Regions from separate parts of the Homo sapiens genome. Here region 1 is linked to region 2. Evidence: promoter capture Hi-C in human tissues and cell types (Jung and others, 2019). All regions are on one chromosome and are shown on one strand. Each heading gives the region's core, a stretch centred on a gene start or on the middle of the fragment in contact. The rest is flanking DNA. Distances are from core to core; before and after follow the strand shown. Region 1 holds the start of BECN1 (beclin 1). Region 2 holds the start of NKIRAS2 (NFKB inhibitor interacting Ras like 2).

Region 1 (5,963 bases), core at 1,729-4,228, 800 kb after region 2:
CTCAGCTACCCAAAGTGCTGGGATTACAGGCTGAGTCACCGCGCCCGGCCGGTATCATTTATCTTTAAGAATCCTTATCTGTCAAAAATACAGAAATATTTACAGTATTTATGTTTGGGATTTGCTTCAAAACAATTCAGAGTGGGAAGGAATGGATGGGGCTGTAGACAAAACTTGATTAAATATGTGTTGATAATTGTTGCAACTAGGTGATGGGTACACAGGAGTTCATGATATACTCTGAAATTTTCCATCACAAAAGCAAACATCCTGTTTCCCCCAGAATAGCAAGGAGGGAACATAAGGAAACTTTCTAGGAAGATGAAACATTGCTAAATTGCAACGATCCAGATTACATCAGTGTATCCATTTGTCAAAAATGTACAGCTAAGATTCATACATTTCAAGTCATGACAATTTACCTTTCTAAAAAGGTGTGAAAAACATAATAATTGAGCAGAGGATGGGAGGTGAATGGAGGTGTAGACAACATAAGAATGTGAGAATATGGCTGATTATTGAAGCTGGATGATGAATACAAGGCAGGCTATGCTATTCTCTTGACTATATATGTCTCAAATTTTCCATAATAAAAAGTCAAAAATTGTTATTAAAAGAGTTTAAGAGGCGCGGTGGCTCACGCCTGTAGTCCCAGCACTTTGGGAGGCTGAGGCGGGCAGATCACAAGGTCAAGAGATCGAGACCATCCTGGCCAACATAGTGAAACCGTCTCTACTAAAAATACAAAAATTAGCTGGGCGTGGCGGTGTGTGCCTGCAGTCCCAGCTACTCAGGAGGCTGACGCAGGACAATCACTTGAACCCGGGAGGCAGAGGTTGCAGTGAGCCGAGATCGCGCCACTGCACTCCAGCCTGGCAACAGAGTGAGACTCCGTCTCAAACAAACAAACAAAAAAAAGAGCTAATTTCCCCTCAAGAAAGAGAAACCAGGTAATAATAGCAGCTAATACTTATTGAATACTATTTGCCCAGCAAATTCCTAAGTGTTTCTGTGGTTTGTCATATTTGAACTTTATAAATTCTTTATGAGGCAGTTTAACGTTTTACAGAAAAAATCAGAAACCAAGGCTTGGAGAAATGAAGTAACTTGCAAAAAGTTGTTCAGCTAGTAAATGACAGCCAGGATTTAAACCCAAGCAGGCTGACTCCAGGCCCATAAGCTTATTTAAGCTGCCTATTCAGTCTTCTCTTTTACTGTCTGACTTAATCTGAATTCTTCTGACTTTGCGGGATTTTGGGGTTTTTTATTTTTTTTAATTATAGAGACAGGGTCTTACTGTGTTGCCCAGGCTGGTCTCAAACTCCTGCTCAAGTGATCCACCTGCCTCAGCCTCCCATAGTGCTGGGATCACAGGTGTGAACCACCACTCCTGGCCTTTTTAATTAATTTATTTTTTGAGACAGGGTCTTGCACTGTTGCCCAAGCTGCAGTGCAGTGGCATGATCATAGCTTCCTGCAGCTTTGACCTCCTGGGCTCAAGTGATCCTCCTGCCTCAGCCTCCACCACCCACCACACCCAGCAATTTTTTTTTTTTTTTAGAGACAAGATCTCTGCTAGGTTGCTCAGGTTGGTCTTGAACTCCTGGGCTCAAGCGATCCTCCCACCTCAGCCTCCCAAAGCACTGAGATTACAGGCGTGAGCCATCACATCCAGCAAATTCTTCAGACTTTAAGACTCTACTCCATTTACCAGCTGTTGGACCTTAGGTAAGTCACTTAACCTCTCTGTGCCTCGGTTCTTCATCTGAAAAATGATGTAATGACGGTATACCCCGTACGGGTTGTTACAGGGACTAAATGAAGTAATACGTGTAATGCACTTGGTATTACTATATAGTAAGTCCTCAAAAAATACCATTTATTATTATATATACATATTCCTTTTCTCTGAAACAGCAGGAGCAGAAAATAAGGATCTTTCTTTTGCTACTGAAAGCTCTCTTTTTTTGAGACGGAGCCTCGCTCTGTTGCCCAGGCTGGAGTGCAGTGGTGCGATCTCAGCTCACTGCAAACTCCACCTCACCGGTTCAAGCGATTCTCCTGCCTCAACCTCCCGAGTAGCTGGGACTACAGGCACGTGCCATCACGCCCGGCTAATTTTTGTATTTTTAGTAGAGAGGGGTTTCGCCATGTTGGCCAGGCTGGTCTCGAACTCCTGACCTCAGGTGATCTGCCCGCCTCGGTCTCCCAAAATGCTGGGATTACAGGCGTGAGCCACCGCGCCCGGTCGGAAAGCTCTCAGAAGTCCACAATGTCAGAATGCTTTATGTTTCCAAGGAGAAAACAGGGAGCCAGATGAAGTGACTTTCCTAGGTTCACACGATGAGTTTGTGGCAGACTACACAGCCACCATAAGAATTATATCACCAAAGCTGCCCACCTTCCACATTCTTGACCACCCTCTTTCCAAGGGTCTCGCTGACCTGTGAGTTCCTGGATGGTGACACGGTCCAGGATCTTGAAACTCGTGTCCAGTTTCAGGGGCTGGCTGCAGCGCTGGCACACGAAGCTCACCTGCATGGTGCTGTTGTTGGACGTCTTAGACCCTTCCATCCCTGAGGCCGTGGAAAAGAGGCAACATTAGGGAGAAGCGACGCCCTTGACCTCCGGCCCGGGGTTACCACATGCCTTGGTGACGATGGTAAAGGGAGGGAAGTCCCAACCTGCGCCGTTCCCTCTAGGAATGGTATGATACGGGGAGGACCTGCTTCCGGGACAGCCTGAGCAAAGGCAGTTTAGAGCCCAGGGTCAGGGAAGGGACTCCAATAAGAGCCGTGAGGGTTCCCAGACTCCCTTCTAAGGTCCCACCTCAGCCCCCGATGCTCTTCACCTCGGGAGCCCGGAGCCCGTCACCCAAGTCCGGTCTACCGCGGAGGCACTGTGGCCTCGGGTCGGCCCCGGAGCGAGGCCTCCAGAACTACCATCGCTCTGTCTTCAGCGACTTCCCGGTAGCCGCCGGAAAACTTCCGCCCGAGACCGGACGTGACGCTACGACGGCAGCAGGAGCTCCTGGTCCACAGGCTCACAGGCCCGGCAGCGGCCCCCAGAGGCCGGGCTGGGAAAAGCAGCGGGCTTCAGCGGATGAACAAGGTTACCACGGGAAGTGTAGGAGCCAAGGCCGCAGAGAATGGGGAGGCTCCGCTATTCTCTAAATTCAGGGGGCGGCGGGCGCGGTGGCTCACGCCTGTAATCTCAGCACTTGGGGAGGCCGAGGAGGGCGGATCACGTGAGGTCAGGAGTTCGAGACCAGCCTGGCCAACACAGTGAAACCCCGTCTCTACTAAAAATACAAAAACTAGCCGGGCGTGGTGGGGCACGCCTATAATCCCAGCTTAATCCCAGCTACTCGGGAGGCTGAGGCAGGAGAATCGCTTGAACCTGGGAGGTGGAGGTTGCAGTGAGCCGAGATCGGGCCACTGCACTCCAGCCTGGGCGACAGGGCAAGGCTCCATCTCAGAACAACAACAGCAACAACAAAAGGCCGGGCATGGTGGCTCACGCTTGTAATTCCAGCACTTTGGGAGGCCGAGGCGGGCGGATCACAAGGTCAGGAGTTCGAGACCAGCCTGGCCAAAATGGTTAAATCCCGTCTCTACTAAAAAATACAATTAGCTGGGCATGGTGGCGTGCGCCTGTAATCCCAGCTACTCAGGAGGCTGGGGTAGGAAAATCGCTTGACCCCCGGAGGCGGAGGTTGCAGTGAGTCGAGATCATGCCACTGCACTCCAGCCTGGGCGACAGAAGGAAACTCCATCTCAAACCCCCCCCCCCCACACACACACACAAAACCAACAAAAAAAGAAAGTGATATTCAAATAAAAGCTTGAAGAAGGTGAGGAAGGAATTCTTACCTGCATCTTAAGGAAGAGCATTCTAGGCCAAGGGAACAGCAAGAGCACAGAGGGTACCTGTTTGGGGATTAGCAGAGGCTGGTGTGGCTAGAAGATGGGCAACGAAAAGAGATACAGAAAATGGGGTGAGGGAGGTAAGAGTGTTGAGCTACCACCTAGGCTCTTATAGGGATTGTAAAGCTCTGGCTTTCACTTTGAATGAGATGAGATGACTGGGTCTTGAGCAGAGGGACTTACTTCATTTTTAAAAACAACTTTATGGGGTATAATTTACATACCATAAGACTCACACTTTTTAAATGTACAGTTCAATAATTTTTAGTAAATTTACACAGTTGCCCAACTATCACCATAATCCAGTTTTAGAACATTTCCCATCTCCCCTTGCAATCCCCCACTGTGGCCTCCCAAAGTGCTGAGATTACAGGTGTGAGCCAATGTGCCTGGCCAAAAGTTTTTCATTTCAATAAAGTCCAATGTTTATGCTTTTGGTGTAAAAGAAACCACTGCTTAACCCAAAATTGTATGTAGTATTGTCTATTTTATTTTTATTTTGAGACAGTGTCTTACTCTGTTACCCAGGCTGGAGTGAAGCGGAACAAACAAACATGGCTCACTGCAGATTTGACTTCCTGGCTCAAGCAATCCTCTTGCTTCAACCTCCAGTGTAGCAGGGACCACAGGTGATCACTACCATGCCCAGCTAATTTTTAAAATTTTTTGTAGAGATGTGGTCTCACACTGCACTCCAGCCTCGGTGACAGAGCGAGACGCCATCTCAAAAAAAAAAAGAGATGGGGTCTCACTTTGTTGCCCAGGCTTCTGCTTTTTAAATTTAACATTTTTCTATGTTGCTACACAGTTATTGTAGTTATCATGGCTACATTACACTACACTAAATGTACTGCCTTAGTGTATTTTTTTACCGCTGGAAATTCTACTATTTCCCCTGTGGGTGATTACAATAATCCTGCAATGAAGAGCTGGCTACTTATGATAGAGACTCATAACTGGGACTACAGAATTAAGAGTGTGTCAGCTATTTAATGTCTCTTCCTTAACACTGGGAATCATTTTCCAAAGTGCTTGCACATAACTATATTCTGCTTCCAGTAATGTATGAGGAAGCCTGTTTTCATATTGCCTTGGCCAGTATTGGGTATCATATATTTGGGGAACAAAAGCAAAAAATGGCACTTCCTTGTTATTTTAATTAGCATCATTGATTGCTGGTAAGGCTGAACTTTTTGCTATGTATTTGCTTATTGTAGTTACTTTTTTTTTTTTTTTTGAGATGGAGTCTTGCTCTGTTGCCCAGGCTGGAGTGCAGTGGTGCCATCTCGGCTCACTGCAACCTCTGCCTCCTGGGTTCACGCCATTCTCCTGTCTCAGCCTCCCGAGTAGCTGGGACTACAGGCGCCCACCACTACACCCGGCTAATTTTTTATATTTTTAGTGGAGACGGTTTCACCATGTTAGCCAGGATGGTCTCAATCTCCTGACCTCCTGATCTGCCCGCCTTGGCCTCCCAAAGTGCTGGGATTACAGGTGTGAGCCACCATGCCCGGCCTTTTTTTAAAAAAAAAAAAAAAAAGAGACACGGTCTCACTCTGTCACCCAGGCTGGAGTGCAGTGGTGCAATATCAGCTCACTGGAATCTCCGCCTCCCGGGCTCAAGCAGTAGTTACTTTTTTCTGAATTATGTTTGCATTCTTTGATTATTTAGGTATTGGATTATTAGTATTTTTCTCAGTATTTTTAGTAATTTTTCATGAATGCTTTAATTATTTTCCAGATGTTCAGGAAGTTTTAAATTTTCAAGTCAAATCTGCTTATTTTTCTTGATGACTTATACTGCTTAGAAAGTTATTCCCACCTCCAGAAGTGTCTTTCTTTTCTTTTAAATGTATGTGGTTTCTTATAGTTGGTATTGGATGTGATATGTGGAACTAGATTGATTTTTCTCCCGGTTTTGTGACTAGGGATAGTGTTTACAATCCTTCTTCCTCTTGGCTCTTTCAGCATGAAAGCCCCTTTAGGGGAGGTGACTGGAATCATCCCCAAAGAATTCTCACCTAGTCCTGGTGTGGC
Region 2 (5,543 bases), core at 2,401-4,900:
AAAGGGCTCCAAACTTCTAGAACCTTCTTGTCAATTCTGCTTTAGGATTAGAACAAGTATGACTACCCACAACTCTGTTCCAACCCCACTTCCAATAATCTGGCCTAACTGTTGCCAGAATCTAGAGCGTTCTCGAAAACCACTCACTCAGCAGCTCCCTTGGCTAGTCCGACTGGCAATCTCGAACCACTGCGGCTGCTTCGGAGTGCCAACAGCGCCCAAGCAGTTGCCCTCTTCCTTGGTGCTTAACTTAAGAAAGAACAGTGCTGGGAAGGATAAAGATCACCCAGGAAGGACAGGGGAAGAGGAGTCTGACGTAGAGAACACGAGATAAGCCCCTCGCTCTTCCTTTTTTTCTCTGTCATCTTTGACTTCTGGGATAACCGGGGGCAACCAGGTCAATTATGGAGACACACAATCACTTCGAACCCAGACTAGTGATCGCTGGGGTATAATTACAAGGGAAAACGGGGTGAGGAGAGCAAAGGTTTTGGAGACGGAAAGTGCAGACAGGCAACAATGCACAGAAGTTAACAAGAGAACGCGGGGGTCGGGGGCGATGTAAGGAAGTCGTCATCGACGCCGCGCCGCTTCCCCCACCTCGCACCAGACCTCTGAAATTGCCCTCGGAGACTCGGCCTCTCCTATAAGGACGATCGTCCTCTCAGCTGGAGAACAAGGCCATGCCTCAGCTCCTACGCCAGGCGGAAGCGGGAGAGGAAGGCCGACCCCCAAGAGCGCCCCTTCAGGGGGTCCATCCGGCCTTGATCTCAGATGGGGGGGTGTTTGCGGAGGGCGGGGCATCGCCTCAACAGCTGGGGGCTGCATCATGGCAGGAACGAGTTTCCCTGAGCCACGGAGCTGCAGGTCGCCTCCTCTACTACCCTGCTACCCGGTTACCTCTTCGCCTCTTGGTCGTCGAGCAGCTCCGGCTCGGTCGCCGCCATTACCACATCGCACTCCGCGGCAGCCGCCATCTTACCGCCGGGACCAGAGAGCTGGGTGGGAGGCCGGCGGTGAAGAGCACTTCCGGTTGGAGCATAGAGCAGCTCCGCGGCGCCGCGCCCAGAAGGGCTCCCTCGGGCTCGTCTACCAGAGAGAGGCTCCGCTTGGGGCCAGAGCGGCCTCCCGCCCCCGGATGTCCACGGTGGTCTCCGCGCCGGGGCGGGAGCCCAGGGGCTGTGCCGGTGCGTAGGCGGCGCCACTTTACCCGTGGGTGGGAAGGCGGGGTGTACCGGTGGTAGCCTCTCTAGGGCTTGGCTGCTTTCAGTATTCCAAGAGCCTCATTGCCATAGCAACTTCCAATCCTAGAGAGTCTTCCTGAAAGGCTCCGTGGAGTCTGGGTTGCGTGGGGACCAGGTGACCCAAGACTCTGTAGGGAAGGAGTCCCCACTGCTACCTTTCCGACCTTGGAGTGTGTCCACAGCTTCTTCCCGGGAAAGTCAAGAGACACTTTGAGCTCAGTTCCCCCAGCTTTCATCGTTCTCTGGAAGCCCTGCCCAGTCAAGCCAGGGGAACGCAGGGCGTCTTCACCCTGCGCCTTTCATCCACTCCGGATCTCCAAACACCAACTGGTTCATCACCCTAATGACGCTGACCCTTTTACAAGGCTCCTTTCATGTCAGCCGCCTGGGAGTGCCATCTCAGCATTAAGCCTAGGAAAGCTGACACATGGCGCCCCAGACCCTGCCCTGGAGTTTATAAGGAAGCTCGCGGGGTGAGGTCCTTGCTCTTGTGTCCCCAGTACTCCCACCTCTTATATAAACTCTCTACTCATCACGCTTGCCTTGCCGAATGCGGTCTGGATTGAGAATTCATAGGGGACAAGGGCACAGTTTAACTGTCTTTGTTGTTATTCCCTCACCCAAACGACTATTTGTGGAGCTGAATTAAATTGGAGCTTTCTGGGGTTAAATTGGAGGAGTATGAGGAGTAGCTTTACAATGTAAAGCTAAGAGTAAAATAAGAAGAGGGCAAAGGAATTTTAAAAGGATTTACCTGTTTGTTCCAGGAAAACAGCATGTGCCAATGCTCATACTCTGCCTATCCCAGTGTGGAGGGAGCTGAAACCACAGCGACCACTGAGTAGGGAGGGATAGGACAAGCTCACTAGGTTGGAAAGGAGGGGTCATTCGTTGAGCCAATCACTCAGCCCTTTCCAAAACGCCTACTCTGTGCTAGGTTGTGAGGGCACAAGACTTACAGACCACCTGCCCTGCCTGCCAGTGGCTCATAGTCCAGTCTAATGCTAGCCAACCTGTCTCACCATCTTCCCACTTTATGTTCTATCTAAGGCAACTCATTTATTCCCACAGCTTTACTTCCATCTGTTGATGACTCTCAACTTTTCATATCTCCAACCTAGACCTTTCTTCAGCTTCCACAGCTGTATATCCAACTATCTACTGGATATCTCTTGTATGTTTCACAAATCCCCAAGGCTTACCATATTTAAATTTAACTTTTTCATTGTCTACCCACACCTCAACAACAGAAAAAACAAATGTTGGATGTAATTATTATCTTTCCTAAATTCCGTATCTTGTTAAATGGATTAAACCATTCTCACTCTTGGCTTCCAATTTGTTGCCAAGTTTTGTTGATTCTCCTACCAAATATTTCCCAAATCTATCTCCACCTTTCCATCCCGATTCAGGCGCTCATCATTTTTTAAAATCTTGGAATAGGCTGGGTGTGGTGGCATGCATCTGTAGTCCCAGCTATTTGGGAGGCTGAGGCAGGAGGATCACTTGAGCCCAGGAGTTAGAGGCTGCAGTGAGCTATGATCACACCAATGTACTCCAGCATGGAGAAAAGAGCAAGACCCTGTCTCAAAAACGGCAACAACAACAACAACAAAACAACAGAAAAAAAAACTTGGAATACATCAATAGTCTCCTAATCGGTCTCTAATTTCATCTCTGTTCAGTCTTCCCTCTTCTGCCAGAGTGACCTTCCTCAGGGACTGATCATGTCTCTTCATTGGCAATGGCTTTCCATTGCCGTCAATTTGATCTCTTTGGCCTACCACACAAAGCCTTTGATTATCTGTTTCTTTTTTTAAATAATTTAATTTGAGTACCAATATTTAGGTCCTTTCTACCACCAATATTGAACCCAAGTTCTCATAGTTTCAGAAAATGCCATGACTTGTAGCCGTTTCCTCCACCCTAGAACACCCTTTCCCCCAGGCCCTTCAGTGTCTGCTGACTCAACGTTAAATGCCCTTTTGCTGTGCTCCACAGCACCTCAGTAGTTGTTAGACATCTAGCTTCTCTAGACCGTGAGTTCTGATGGGCAGCCACCATGTCTAACTCGTCCACTTTCTCTCAGTATATGGCCCTGCACCAGGCACAGACAGATGATGCTCAGAAAACATTTGACGAATAAATGATTGAGTAAACGAAGAGTTACTGTACTCTGATCGCCTTTACAGAGAGAACATCTGGGCCTCAGAGACACCAGAACACCCAGCGGCCCGCGTCCAGGGAGTCTAGAACCTTGGGCTCCCGCGCACACCCAGGCCAGGTCCTGGCCGTCATTCTCCCGCCGGCCTCTGGGGGAGCTGCGCGGTCCGCGCTCTCTCTCCGCTGCCGGAATTCGTCTTGCCTGACGGAAGCTGGGGAGCGGGCAGGCGGCGGGGGCGGGGCCTGGAGGAGCCTACACCGACTCTGGAGGAAGACTGGAGCCTTTGCGGCGGCGCTGCCCCTCCCCTGGTCCCCGCGAGCTCGGAGGGCCCGGCTGGTGCTGCGGGGGCCCCGGGAGGTACGGACCTGGGAGGCGAGGCTCGTCCGGCGCTAGGATCGGCCTCCGCCTCCGGGCCGCTTTAGGTGGCTGGTCTCTGCCTCTCATTCCCTCTGGGGGCTCCCCCGTGAGAAAATCTGTGGCGGAGGCACCTCTGGCCCACTCTTATGGTGTCCTTTATTGTGGGGCTCGCTATATGGAGAGGGGGTCTGTGTCAGGAGCTTCCCCTGGAGAGGTTTCTGTTAGGGACCGTCTTTGGGAGTGATCTATCTCTGCTCTCTGGGGGGGATCTTTGTCTGGAGCTTTTGGGGGGCTTGTGTTTGGAAGTTTGCCTTCGGGGAGATATCTGTCTGGGACCTCTTAGGGTTTCTGTATCTGAGCTTTCTCTTTTGTGTCTGTCAGTCCAAGGGCAGCAAAAAGTATGTCCTTTCTGAAGCCTTTTTTTCCGTAGGTTTCTTCATTCTTTTCTCTCTTGTCTTATGTTCATTTTAGCCATAGACTTGACTGGAGTTTAGAGGGAATTGATTGTTGTCCAGATGAGTCGTACAGGAAAGCAGATTGTCTTTTTTTGAGACGGAGTCTTGCTCTGCCGCCCAGGCTGGAGTGCAGTGGCATATTCTTGGCTCACTGCAATCTCCGCCTCCTGGATTCAAGCGATTCTCCTGCCTCAGCCTCTCAAGTAGCTGGGATTACAGGCACCCGCCACCACGCCTGACTAATTTTTTGTATGTTTAGTAGAGATGAGGTTTCACTATGTTGGCCAGTCTGGTCTCGAACTCCTGACTTTGTGATCTGCCCACCTCGGCCTCCCGAAGTGCTGAGATTACAGGCGTGAGCCACCGTGCCCTGCCCCAGATTATCCTTTTTATTTGCTCAGTCCCCCCAGGGAGCAGATGGCTTCAGACAGCCACACAAAACACTGTTCCTGCTTAATTCTCCATGGGGTCATGGTTAAAGAGAGGAAGCTGGGCTGAGCTCCCTTTACTAATTGGTCCTCTACATCTTGCGCACAGAAGGGAACCTGGCCCAGTGGCCAGTGACTCTCCTCTCCCTTTATGGCAGCATTTCCAAGCACCTGCCCTGTGACAGATACTGGCTAGGTACTGGGGATAACAAAGACGAATAAAATAACAGCTTACCATCCAGTAGTAGACATGGAGACATCCGTTTCCTCTGACTAGCATTGGGATGGTGCTGAAACCCTGGAACTATACATTCAGTTTAGAACTATACATTCAGTTTAGAACTCTCAGTTATGGACGTTCTGCCTTCTGTTTTTTTGGTTTTTGTTTTTGTCCACCAGAAAACATCTGCTAGTAACTGCCTTCTGTGTTGATGCTTTCTTTCCTCACCTTACCCAGCGTGCTTCTGTTCTTCAAGGTTGAAAACTAAGCATGGGGAAGAGCTGCAAGGTGGTCGTGTGTGGCCAGGCGTCTGTGGGCAAAACTTCAATCCTGGAGCAGCTTCTGTATGGGAACCATGTAGTGGGTGAGTGTTGTTGGAGGGGGAGGAACAGTGGAAGAAGTTGAAAAATAAGGAATAGGACTTGATCACAACACACACAGGCTAAAAGCTGCTCCTGGTGGTTTTCCCCCCTGGAAGAATAAAACTTACATTGTAACAGATCAACTCTACAACACTGAACAAATACGGAGGGAGAAAGCCCTATGTCCAAGATAGGAAAGAGAAGCTGTCATGTCACACTTGTGCTTAGCATGGAATTAGCATAAAATTAATGTCCATTGGCCGGGTGCGGTGGATCACGCCTGTAATCCGAGCACTTTGGGAGGCTGAGGCGG

What was found. The method cuts DNA at HindIII sites, captures the fragments that hold promoters and counts their contacts. A contact is called where the count stands out against the background at its distance.
Region 1: a contact is called between the fragment with the promoter of BECN1 here and the fragment with the promoter of NKIRAS2 in region 2, in 1 of the 25 tissues and cell types used here (heart right ventricle).

The regions. Positions count from the first base shown.
Region 1 is chr17:42,821,304-42,827,266 of GRCh38, forward strand. It overlaps BECN1 (beclin 1), which reads right to left and starts at 2,979. Exons shown (of 12, transcript NM_001313998.2): 1 at 2,852-2,979; 2 at 2,445-2,576. The coding sequence starts at 2,574. It overlaps MIR6781 (microRNA 6781), which reads right to left and starts at 2,640; the gene lies at 2,577-2,640. RefSeq lists enhancers at 2,206-2,772, 2,773-3,341, 3,208-3,337, 3,342-3,908. The HindIII fragment of the contact is 8,869 bases long and covers 1-5,963 here.
Region 2 is chr17:42,016,440-42,021,982 of GRCh38, forward strand. It overlaps NKIRAS2 (NFKB inhibitor interacting Ras like 2), which reads left to right and starts at 3,651. Exons shown (of 4, transcript NM_017595.6): 1 at 3,651-3,765; 2 at 5,125-5,232. The coding sequence starts at 5,139. It overlaps DNAJC7 (DnaJ heat shock protein family (Hsp40) member C7), which reads right to left and starts at 1,000. Exons shown (of 14, transcript NM_003315.4): 1 at 901-1,000. The coding sequence starts at 977. RefSeq lists enhancers at 209-1,408, 519-568, 639-1,048 and silencers at 1,159-1,308, 3,535-3,944. The HindIII fragment of the contact is 10,906 bases long and covers 1-5,543 here.